3 separate regions of the Homo sapiens genome follow, and all the other regions are linked to region 1. Evidence: promoter capture Hi-C in 16 types of primary human blood cells and fetal thymus (Javierre and others, 2016). All regions are on one chromosome and are shown on one strand. The core of a region is centred on a gene start or on the middle of the fragment in contact, and the rest is flanking DNA. Distances in the headings are between cores, read along the strand shown.

Region 1 (2,993 bases), core at 338-2,837:
ATGGCCCCTCAAGAGGGAAGCATGGGATTCCTGGAATTTATGTCTGGAAATATTAGAGGGCCTGGGGAACAGGAAAACCCACTCCTGCCACACAAAAAGGTCAACAGAGAAAGACCAGACTAGATCCTGGCTGTGGCTGAGCAAGTCGGGGGAGGTGGGGATCTGTGCGGATCTGTGCCAGGGGCTAGCAGGGAGGGCAGGGCCTTCCCAGATCCTCTGGAATTCTAAGCCAACCGGACAATCGAGTTAGCGTAAGGGATGGTTTTGGAAGAGGCCGGTGATGGGAGCCGATGATGGGAGCCTGCCGGAGGTTCCACAAGAGCCTAGAGGAAGCCTAGAGACGCTGGCACAATTCAGTCCTCACCGAAATCATTTCCTCTTTCTACAGTTCTTGTACCCCCATCTTGACAGATCAGTTCGCACAAGAATGCGACCCTTTCGCTGCCCTTTTTTAGGAAATGGTTTTCATGAGACCAGCTTTGCCAATGACACGGGCGGGTACACCAGATGCTAATGGCTGCTGAAAACGCCCTTAGAACCGGCTCTTCTTTTAGAAGAAGGAATTCTGGAATGCGGAGTGGGCCCCCGAAAGGAAGCGACCCTACGTTTATCTGAATTCCCAGGGGCGGTTCGCCAGCGGCTCCCTGCGTCCTCGCCGGGTCCCCTGTCTGCAGTCCCCGGGCCGCACGGATTGACTGCTTTTTTGTTTCTGGCTGCTTTAAGGCTTCTTCGGGCGGAGAAAACCCCACTTTAGGGGAGTGATGGTGGGGAGGACTTTCCCAGGCAGCTTCTTTCACCCGCAGCAGGGAAGTTTGCAGGGCGCGCTCCGCACAGGTCACTGCCTCACCTTCCACCCCGGCCGCGCCCTCGGCTTTCACCCCCTTGGCTGGGTTCGCTTTTGGTTTTATTTTTCTGTTTTACGTGAGTAAATCAATTGCCCCCAGGAGGCAAAAGAGCACTCAGCGACTTGGCTGAGCAACTTAAACTTTCTGCCGGAAGGAAACTATCAAAAGCGGAGGAGAAAGCCCTCGGGGCCCCAGACTCGCCGCCACTGCCCCGTCCCCGCTGGGGGTCCCCGCGAGGTCGCCGCGGATCCGGGGACTCGCGGGCCGGGAGGAAAGAGCGGAGTAAGCCCGGGGCAGGCTCGGACCCGGACCCCGGCAGGGTGAGAGCGGGGGCGGACCAGAGGGGCGCACGGACGGCGGGGAGGCGGAGAACAGGCGGGGTGCGGAGAGCGAGGGGCGCGGAGAGCGAGGGGCGCACGGACTAGGGGAGCCAGGGGGACCCGGGGAACCAGGGGGCGCGCGGACGAGGGGGACGGGGGCTACGAGAGGGGTGCGGAGAGCGAGGGGATCACGGGGACTGAGCGCGCAGGGAATAGGGGAGCGAAGGGGCGCGAGAGCGCGGGCCGGGGTCCGCCGGCGGGTGGCGGCCAGGACTCACCCCGAGAAGGCACACTTTGAGCTCCCGTATCGCCATCATGTGCTCGCAGCCAGGCAGTGCCGGGGCTCAGCAGCATCCTCCGGGGCCGCCGCGCCCGCGCCCCGCCGGCGTCTCTCGCCTCTGCCCCTCGCTCGCGCCGCCCGCGGGCGGAACCGCCGCCGCTGCTATTTCTGGGCCGCCGGCCCCGCCGCGGTGGGTCACGTGGCCGCCGGCCGGCTCCTCCCGGGCGCGTCGGGTCCAGCCTCGCCGGCCCCCAGCTCCCAGGAACGCCCCCGGACGGCGTCAGCCACCCGGGACCTGCGGCGTCGCCGGCGGATTGCCTCCGCCCTCGGACCAGCCCCGCGCGGGTCGGCCTCCCCCAGCGCCCTCCGGCATCCGCCCCTCCCGGCCCCGCCTGGCCGCAGGGCCCGGGTGGGTAGGAAGGACTGGACCGGCCCTGTGGAGACCTGGCCCCACTACCAGCGGGTCCCTGAAGATGCCATTCTCATCTGGAAAGCGAATGCTCTCGGCCGAGGCCGTTTGCGTGGCAGCGCGTGGAGGTCTGCGGGGGTCCCATCCTCAAGCGACATTCTGGGTCCCACGCAGAAAAAGTCAGGCCACTGAAGGGGCCGCTGTGAGGACAGGGGTGAGGAGAAGGGGGCTAACTTTTCGGCCTGCCTTTCTCGACGTTCCTAATACCCGAGCTTCCGTTTAACATATGTGTGGCTCTTCAGCTCAGCCAAGTTCATTTTTCTGTATGCAGCTGAAAATGATTCTAGAAGCAAAACTCGCTGTCCGTGTCTGAAACGGGAAACTTGCTTTCTGGAGCAAAAGTCTTTTTCTCAGTAGAGCAAATCCTGCAACTCGTGTGGGCAGAAACCCAGTCCTCAGAGGTACAGGTAGAAACGTGGAGATCCCAGCAGACCCCTGCATCGTTCCTAACTGGGAAATGAGCAGAGTCTGTGGCCGCACACAGTCGGGGAGGCTTGGGTAACTGTGTTCTCTTCTCCATGTATGGCCTAGAGCACCTCATCCACTCGGATGACTTCATTCGTTGCTGCTACAGAAATGTCAGCCTTTTCAATGTAATCTATCTGAACAATTCACTGGCATTTCAGATGGGAAATGTTTTTTTAAAAACTGATTTTTTGAAACTTCATCTCCTATCCCAAACTCTCAGGCCTCTCTCTTAACCTTCCAATTTTAATCAATGGCATTTCCATTCTCCTAGCAGACCACCCACCGTGATCATCTGGCTTTGTTCTTACGGAAGCCAGGTTGAAGCTACCCAGTACCCAAGTAGCCCCATCCAATGGGAAATTCCAAATCAAGGCCTCCAAAGAGATAAGTCCTGGAATACAGGAGTCAAAATGGGCCCCGAAACAGACAATTCACAATTAAATTCCCCAGAAGAGCAGGAAGTTTGCCCTCGAGGTGCAGGCTTGTAGAGATTACTCAAATGGACTAAACTGTACAAAAGGCAGCCATGGACAAGTTACAGGTCCATTGTATCAGTATCCGTCCTTGACTCTGTATCCAAAGCAGAGTCTTCTATGTGGGCAGGGTAAAAA
Region 2 (2,864 bases), core at 214-2,713, 130 kb after region 1:
ATGAGGCTGAGGTTGGAAGATCACTTAAGCCAAGGATTTTGAGGCTGCAGTGAGCCATGGTAGCACCACTGTTTTCCAGCCTCCACAGCAGAGCAAGAGCTGTCTCAAAAGGAAAAGGAATGCTAAACTTCAGGGAAATTGGTGTGTGGCAAAGTCAAGGTTTTAGTAACATACCAGTTTCCCATTGTTGTTGCCTTTGTCCGATTGTGTCCATCCTTCCATAAAACCTCTCATTTTCAAATGTTTTAAAAATTCCTGATTTTAAAAATAATACAGAAATACGACATGAAGTGGAATTCTATAACTTCTTTATCACCCCTCCTACATGAGACAGTCATCAAGAACAATAGTATATGCTTCAAGATCTTTGTGACATACTTTAAGTTAACATTATGTTTCTGGTACGTCTGTCTTGCTTCCTTCTAGTGAACAAATTAAAGTCTTTCCTACCTGAAAACATTAAATGTATTTATCACATTTTGTTGGCTTTATTGATTTTTATGTTCTTTGTGGCACTCTTGGTTTTCCTTATTCTTTTTGTTCTTGAGAACACAGCAGGACCTTCTTTAGTTTTGTTCTATGCAAATGTTTCATAGTATCTCATACTTAGATTATCATGGTTCAAACATTCAAGAGAGGATAAAAACAATTGAAAGTAAAAAAGAGCAAATAGGGGTTTGTTTGGGGTTTTTTTTTTAGACAGTCTTGCTCTGTCACCCAGGCTGGAGTACAGTGGTGTGATCACGGCTCACTACAGACTTAGCCTCATGGGTTCACGCGCTTCTTCCACCTCAGGCCCTGCCGAGTAGCTGGGACCACAGGCATGCGCCACCACGCCCTGCTAACTTTGGTATTTTTTGTAGAGACTGGATTTCGCCATGTTGCCCAGGCTGGTCTCAAACTGCTGGACTCAAGCGATCTGCCCAGCTCAGCCTCCCAGAGTGCTGGGATTACAGGCATGAGCCACTGCGCCCAGCCAGAGAAAATAGCTTGTAAGAATTTTTCAGTCCTAGCTAAAGTTCTGAATCTGGGCTTCCTTTAGAAAAGCTTCATTATTATCCTAAACATACTTCGGCATTTGAAAGTAGATTATTAAATATACATAATGTGTGCGTATATAATTCTTTTTCAAAATGATTCCTTTATTATTGTCCTTTTTATCTTCCTAGGTTCGCCAAGCAGCTTTTCAGTCTCTGGGACCTTTCATATCTACTTTTGCTAATCCATCTAGCTCAGGCCAGTATTTTAAAGAAGAAAGCAAAAGTTCAGAAGAGATGTCAGTAGAAAACAAAAATAGGTATAATTTTGAAACCATTTTCTAATTTTAAAACCTTGTTTTCTAATTTTACTGCTTTTAAACATTATTTCCACTATTCTGCAACAAATGTTATTTTTTGATAGTTTGCTATTTCTCTTGAATATAAAAATTGGTGAATATTTTTATAGAGCTTTACTTTAAGCGCATTTGTTTGTTAAGTATCTCTTTGGTTGGTTACATATTGAATGAGTAGATGCATGTAACACAATTAGCTAGATGCCTCGCACATAGGAAACTCTAAATGGTAGATTATGACTTTTAAAAAATGTTTATTTAGTACATTATTTAGTCAATCATTCATTGATATCTACAATATACAGGGTAATTGTTACACACTGTGTAGTATTTGGGTTTTTTTAAATTTGTTTTTAAGGAGTAAAACTTAATTTAGGAATATGTTTTATTGTCCTTTTCTGTCAAATAATTTAGTTGCGCATCTTGGATTCTTTGTCAATGGTGATTGTAATCTGTCAGTTAAAGGAGAAAGCCAGTATATTAGCCAGTATATCAGTTTTAAGTATATCAGTCTCATAAGGAAACCAAAGTTTTAAATAAAGCTTAAAGAGTCGGCTGTGATTTTTATTTTTAAATGTTTTTGCATTGAAAATTTTCTATTAAATTTAAATTTTAAAAATTTATTATAATATATATTTAGGGGAAAAACTAATTCAAGCCTAACTTACTAGTATGCGGGAAATGTACACAAACTTTTACAGTTATGCACTTGAAGTAATTTTAGTACAAATATTTGAAACAGTCCCTGCTATAATGCTTGAGTTACCATAGTGTCTTTTCCCTCCCTTGTCATGATGCTAATGGACATTTTCTTCTGTAGGTCTTGATACTGTGCTATTTGCTTTCTTGGTGTTTTGATTTGGCAGTTCTTCTTTCTTCTCTGCTGCCTTGTTTTACCTTTTTGCCCGTTCTCCTACTGTCCTGCTGAATAGCCAAACAAACCTGAGGTACTGTTTTTTGTAAAGGAAGAAAATCACTCAAACCTGTCTTCCTAGCAAGCAAAGTCTGTCAGTTTTTTTGAAAACAGGTGCTGCCAGGACTTTGACAAAAGTGATGATGGTGGGTGGGGAATGTTATCTATTTTTCATTTTTGAAATCAGCATACTTAAAAAATTACCTGTTTATACTGAAGACTGTTACATAACTTCTGTTTTAAAATCTGAAATGGGTCTAGTAAGAAACTATAAATTTGCAGAGAACTGTATAGGACGAGCTGGTAAACTTTCTTCTGTTTCACAACTACTCACTCGGCCTTTGCAGTGTATAAGCAGCCGTAGACATTACATAAATGGACAAGCTTGGCTGTGTTCCAGTAAAACTTCACTGACCTCAACAGTGTGCCTATCAAGGCCATGTTTGCCGCCTACCGGTGTGTAGCATTACTGCAATAGCTATTTAAAGGTAGTTCAATTCCTTGATTCTTCTTCCATTGTAATGAGGTATGTCTTAATGTCCAGGCAATACTACTTGTATTGCTGATCTTCAGTAATATTAGAGCTTATTAAATTATGTTAATGATATGGTAGGGGAA
Region 3 (2,718 bases), core at 145-2,644, 240 kb before region 1:
GGAAGGACATGAGAAACAAGAGCAGAAGCTGGCAATACTGCAGGCCAGATCACAAATAATTAGAATGTGTGCTAAAGTAAGGAACTTGCAGCAATGAGAAACCACGGGAAGACTGTTAAAAGAGGAGTAGGGTGGGGAGCAAAGGCACTGGGGCAAAGAAGAAAGAACTGACCAAGCAAAAATTTAAAAGCTAATTGCTAAAATGGCCTAATAACACTCACATGTCCTATACCTTCATTTCAATCAATTTATTTTCAACCAACAGAACTTACTCTCAGGTGCCGATTTTCTTCTGATAGCTTCATCATTTCTCCCTGAAGTCTTTTACACTCTTCCATTAGTTTCCTTGTTTCGGTATCATTAAGTGAAACACTGTGTGGTTTTGGCATAGGTCCATCTTGCTTAGATGCATTCAGTGGAACAGCTTTGCTAGGTTCCATATCATTCTGCATTACAAAGATATTGGGAATTTTTTAACTAACCAAATCTCCTTACAGGTTTTAAACAAATAACAATATAAATTCTACATCTTTGTTCATGAAAAACTCTTTAAAAGGCCTAAATCAGTACATGTCAGCAGTCAGATTAGTCTAAATAACCAGCCCACTCCCTCTATTCCCATAATCCCTGGCACGTACCTCTACCATAGCACTTTATTATGTATCTTAATAATTATTGTTCAAGTTCTTTCCTGTAATACTTCAAAGGCTGAGAGAGCAAGAGCCATCTCTCTTTGTATTTACCCCTAAAACCAGCACTTTGGTCAAGAGTAGTTATTCAATGAAAGTATGCTGAATGACGTCAACAAAATCCATTGAAGGTCATTTTCCGTGCTCTGGTTGTGCAATTCAAATAAGGTTCTGGGGGGTAGGGGGATATTATCGTAATCATTCCAATAAAATCGGAAACTACCTAAGAAAAAACATGCCCAAGAAAAGCTAACTTCTATTAATTTGTCATCTTTAGTAATGCTGTTTGCTTTAATTCACGTGATTCAACATCACAGGAGCACTTAGCATGCTTTGAAGACTATGAGCCCCAAAATCTTAATCCTCACCAACATTGAACCATTTGAAGCTAGTGAAGGCCTGGAGATAAATATCTATGACAGCACCTATGTATTCTTCAGCCCGTTGTCTAAAGTACCCCAACATCCTTCACTCCAACAGCATTTATGTCACCACACATCGTAGCAGTATTAGTGTAACAAGCTTTTTTCATTTTAATTAAATTCACTTACTTTAAAATAATTTTAGGTAAAATCTGCTTTATTCAGCTATAAACTGCTAAAAAAGACATTTACTAAATCAACTTTATGGCATTCCACAATACTCATTTTATAAGATTTATCAGAGGCTGCACACCTACCACACCATCCCAGCTGCCAATTTTATATTAAGTATAAACAGATTGTTCAAAGGGCAAAACTTGTTATTCTTATGAAGGGGATGTGATTTGATTAGTATGCCTAAATCCATGTAAAATCTATTTAAAAATGAAAATTTATAATGAGGTTCTAATGAACAACAGCATGTATGTGACCTGTCGGCAGACTCTTCCATTCTTCTTCAAGCTTCCCAGTTAAGCAACGTTTTAAAGCAGCCTACTTCAATTCTCTGAGTTTTTCTCTTGCTAGCTTTTTTGTTCTTCACCCCCATTTCTCCCACCCCAACCAATCTAATAATAGCCGCCCCTATTATTAAAAAACTGTTTCAGATATATTTTACCCTGCCAATACTTTTTCCTGTTCTTTTCCTTAATAGTAGTTAGAACTCATTTGTGATTTTCAGTGTGGTCAAATTCTATCCTAGCACAAATCCAACTTCTGATAATGAGGTTGGCACACTGACTTACTCTATAAAGGAGGTGGCAATGGCCACCAATATGGCAATAGAAGAACTTTCAGGTTTTGGTTAAAAATTGGGAAAAAGTATCATACTCATACCAGAAAACTGATAAAAACTTAAAGAGGATGAAGCAGGGCACCATGTCTGATGTCTGTAATCCCAACACTTTGGGAGGCCGAGATGGGTGGCCTGCTTGAGCCCAGGAGTTCAAGAACAGCCTGAGCAACAGAGGGAGACCCTGTCTCTACAAAAAACAATTTTAGAAATTAGCCAGGCATGGTGGTGTGCACCTGTAATCTCAGCTACTCATGAGACTGAGGTGGCTTGAGCCCAGGAAGCGGAGGTTGCAATGAGACGAGATCGTGCCACTGCACTCCAGCCCAGGTGAGAGTGAGACCCTATCTCCAAAAGGGGGAAAAAAAGATATACATGGGGTCAACACCAAAGAGAAAAAAAACTAAAAGAATCATCAAGCTCGACAACTGATTATTTTTAAATTCTTTACATTGCATAAAATTTTAAATTACGGAGGGAAGGGAAAAAGTCATTTCTCACAATCTTGTCAAATCAACAAAACTATTATTTATATTACTATTATTAAATGACATGTCATTAAATATTCTATTCTATGCCTTGCCAAAATTAAACATTTCACTTTTGTTAAGCATTTGATGGGCAGCTTTCCATTCTTTCAAATTTTAAATAACATGTCCATAGGAAGACATTCCATAAAAAGATAACTAGATTGGAATTAGATTTAGATTTTTCTAATTCTAATAGAATTAGACTTGGAATTAGATTAGAATTTATCTAAGCAAATAGAATTAGATTTTTTTGTTGTTGAATTTCTCTTAAAAATGTTATACTGCTT

The links. Contacts are between HindIII fragments. The CHiCAGO score rates a contact against its expected background, and 5 or more counts as called.
Region 2: a fragment that was not itself captured here is called in contact with the fragment with the promoter of RAB31 in region 1 in 1 of 17 cell types (neutrophils); the score reaches 5.7 in neutrophils.
Region 3: a fragment that was not itself captured here is called in contact with the fragment with the promoter of RAB31 in region 1 in 1 of 17 cell types (erythroblasts); the score reaches 5.1 in erythroblasts.

The regions. Positions count from the first base shown.
Region 1 is chr18:9,706,895-9,709,887 of GRCh38, reverse strand. It overlaps RAB31 (RAB31, member RAS oncogene family), which reads right to left and starts at 1,587. Exons shown (of 7, transcript NM_006868.4): 1 at 1,444-1,587. The coding sequence starts at 1,482. It overlaps LOC124904244 (a long non-coding RNA gene), which reads left to right and starts at 1,916. Exons shown (of 2, transcript XR_007066281.1): 1 at 1,916-2,993. LOC105371981 (a long non-coding RNA gene) reads right to left here and starts at 1,216. Exons shown (of 2, transcript XR_935131.2): 1 at 1-1,216. RefSeq lists silencers at 993-1,222, 1,323-1,892. The HindIII fragment of the contact is 11,750 bases long and covers 1-2,993 here.
Region 2 is chr18:9,575,497-9,578,360 of GRCh38, reverse strand. PPP4R1 (protein phosphatase 4 regulatory subunit 1) reads left to right here. Exons shown (of 20, transcript NM_001042388.3): 10 at 1,170-1,297. Among named protein-coding and RNA genes, the nearest start is that of PPP4R1, 38 kb to the left of the region's middle. The HindIII fragment of the contact is 828 bases long and covers 1,050-1,877 here.
Region 3 is chr18:9,948,123-9,950,840 of GRCh38, reverse strand. VAPA (VAMP associated protein A) reads right to left here. Exons shown (of 6, transcript NM_194434.3): 5 at 273-446. Among named protein-coding and RNA genes, the nearest start is that of VAPA, 35 kb to the right of the region's middle. The HindIII fragment of the contact is 362 bases long and covers 1,214-1,575 here.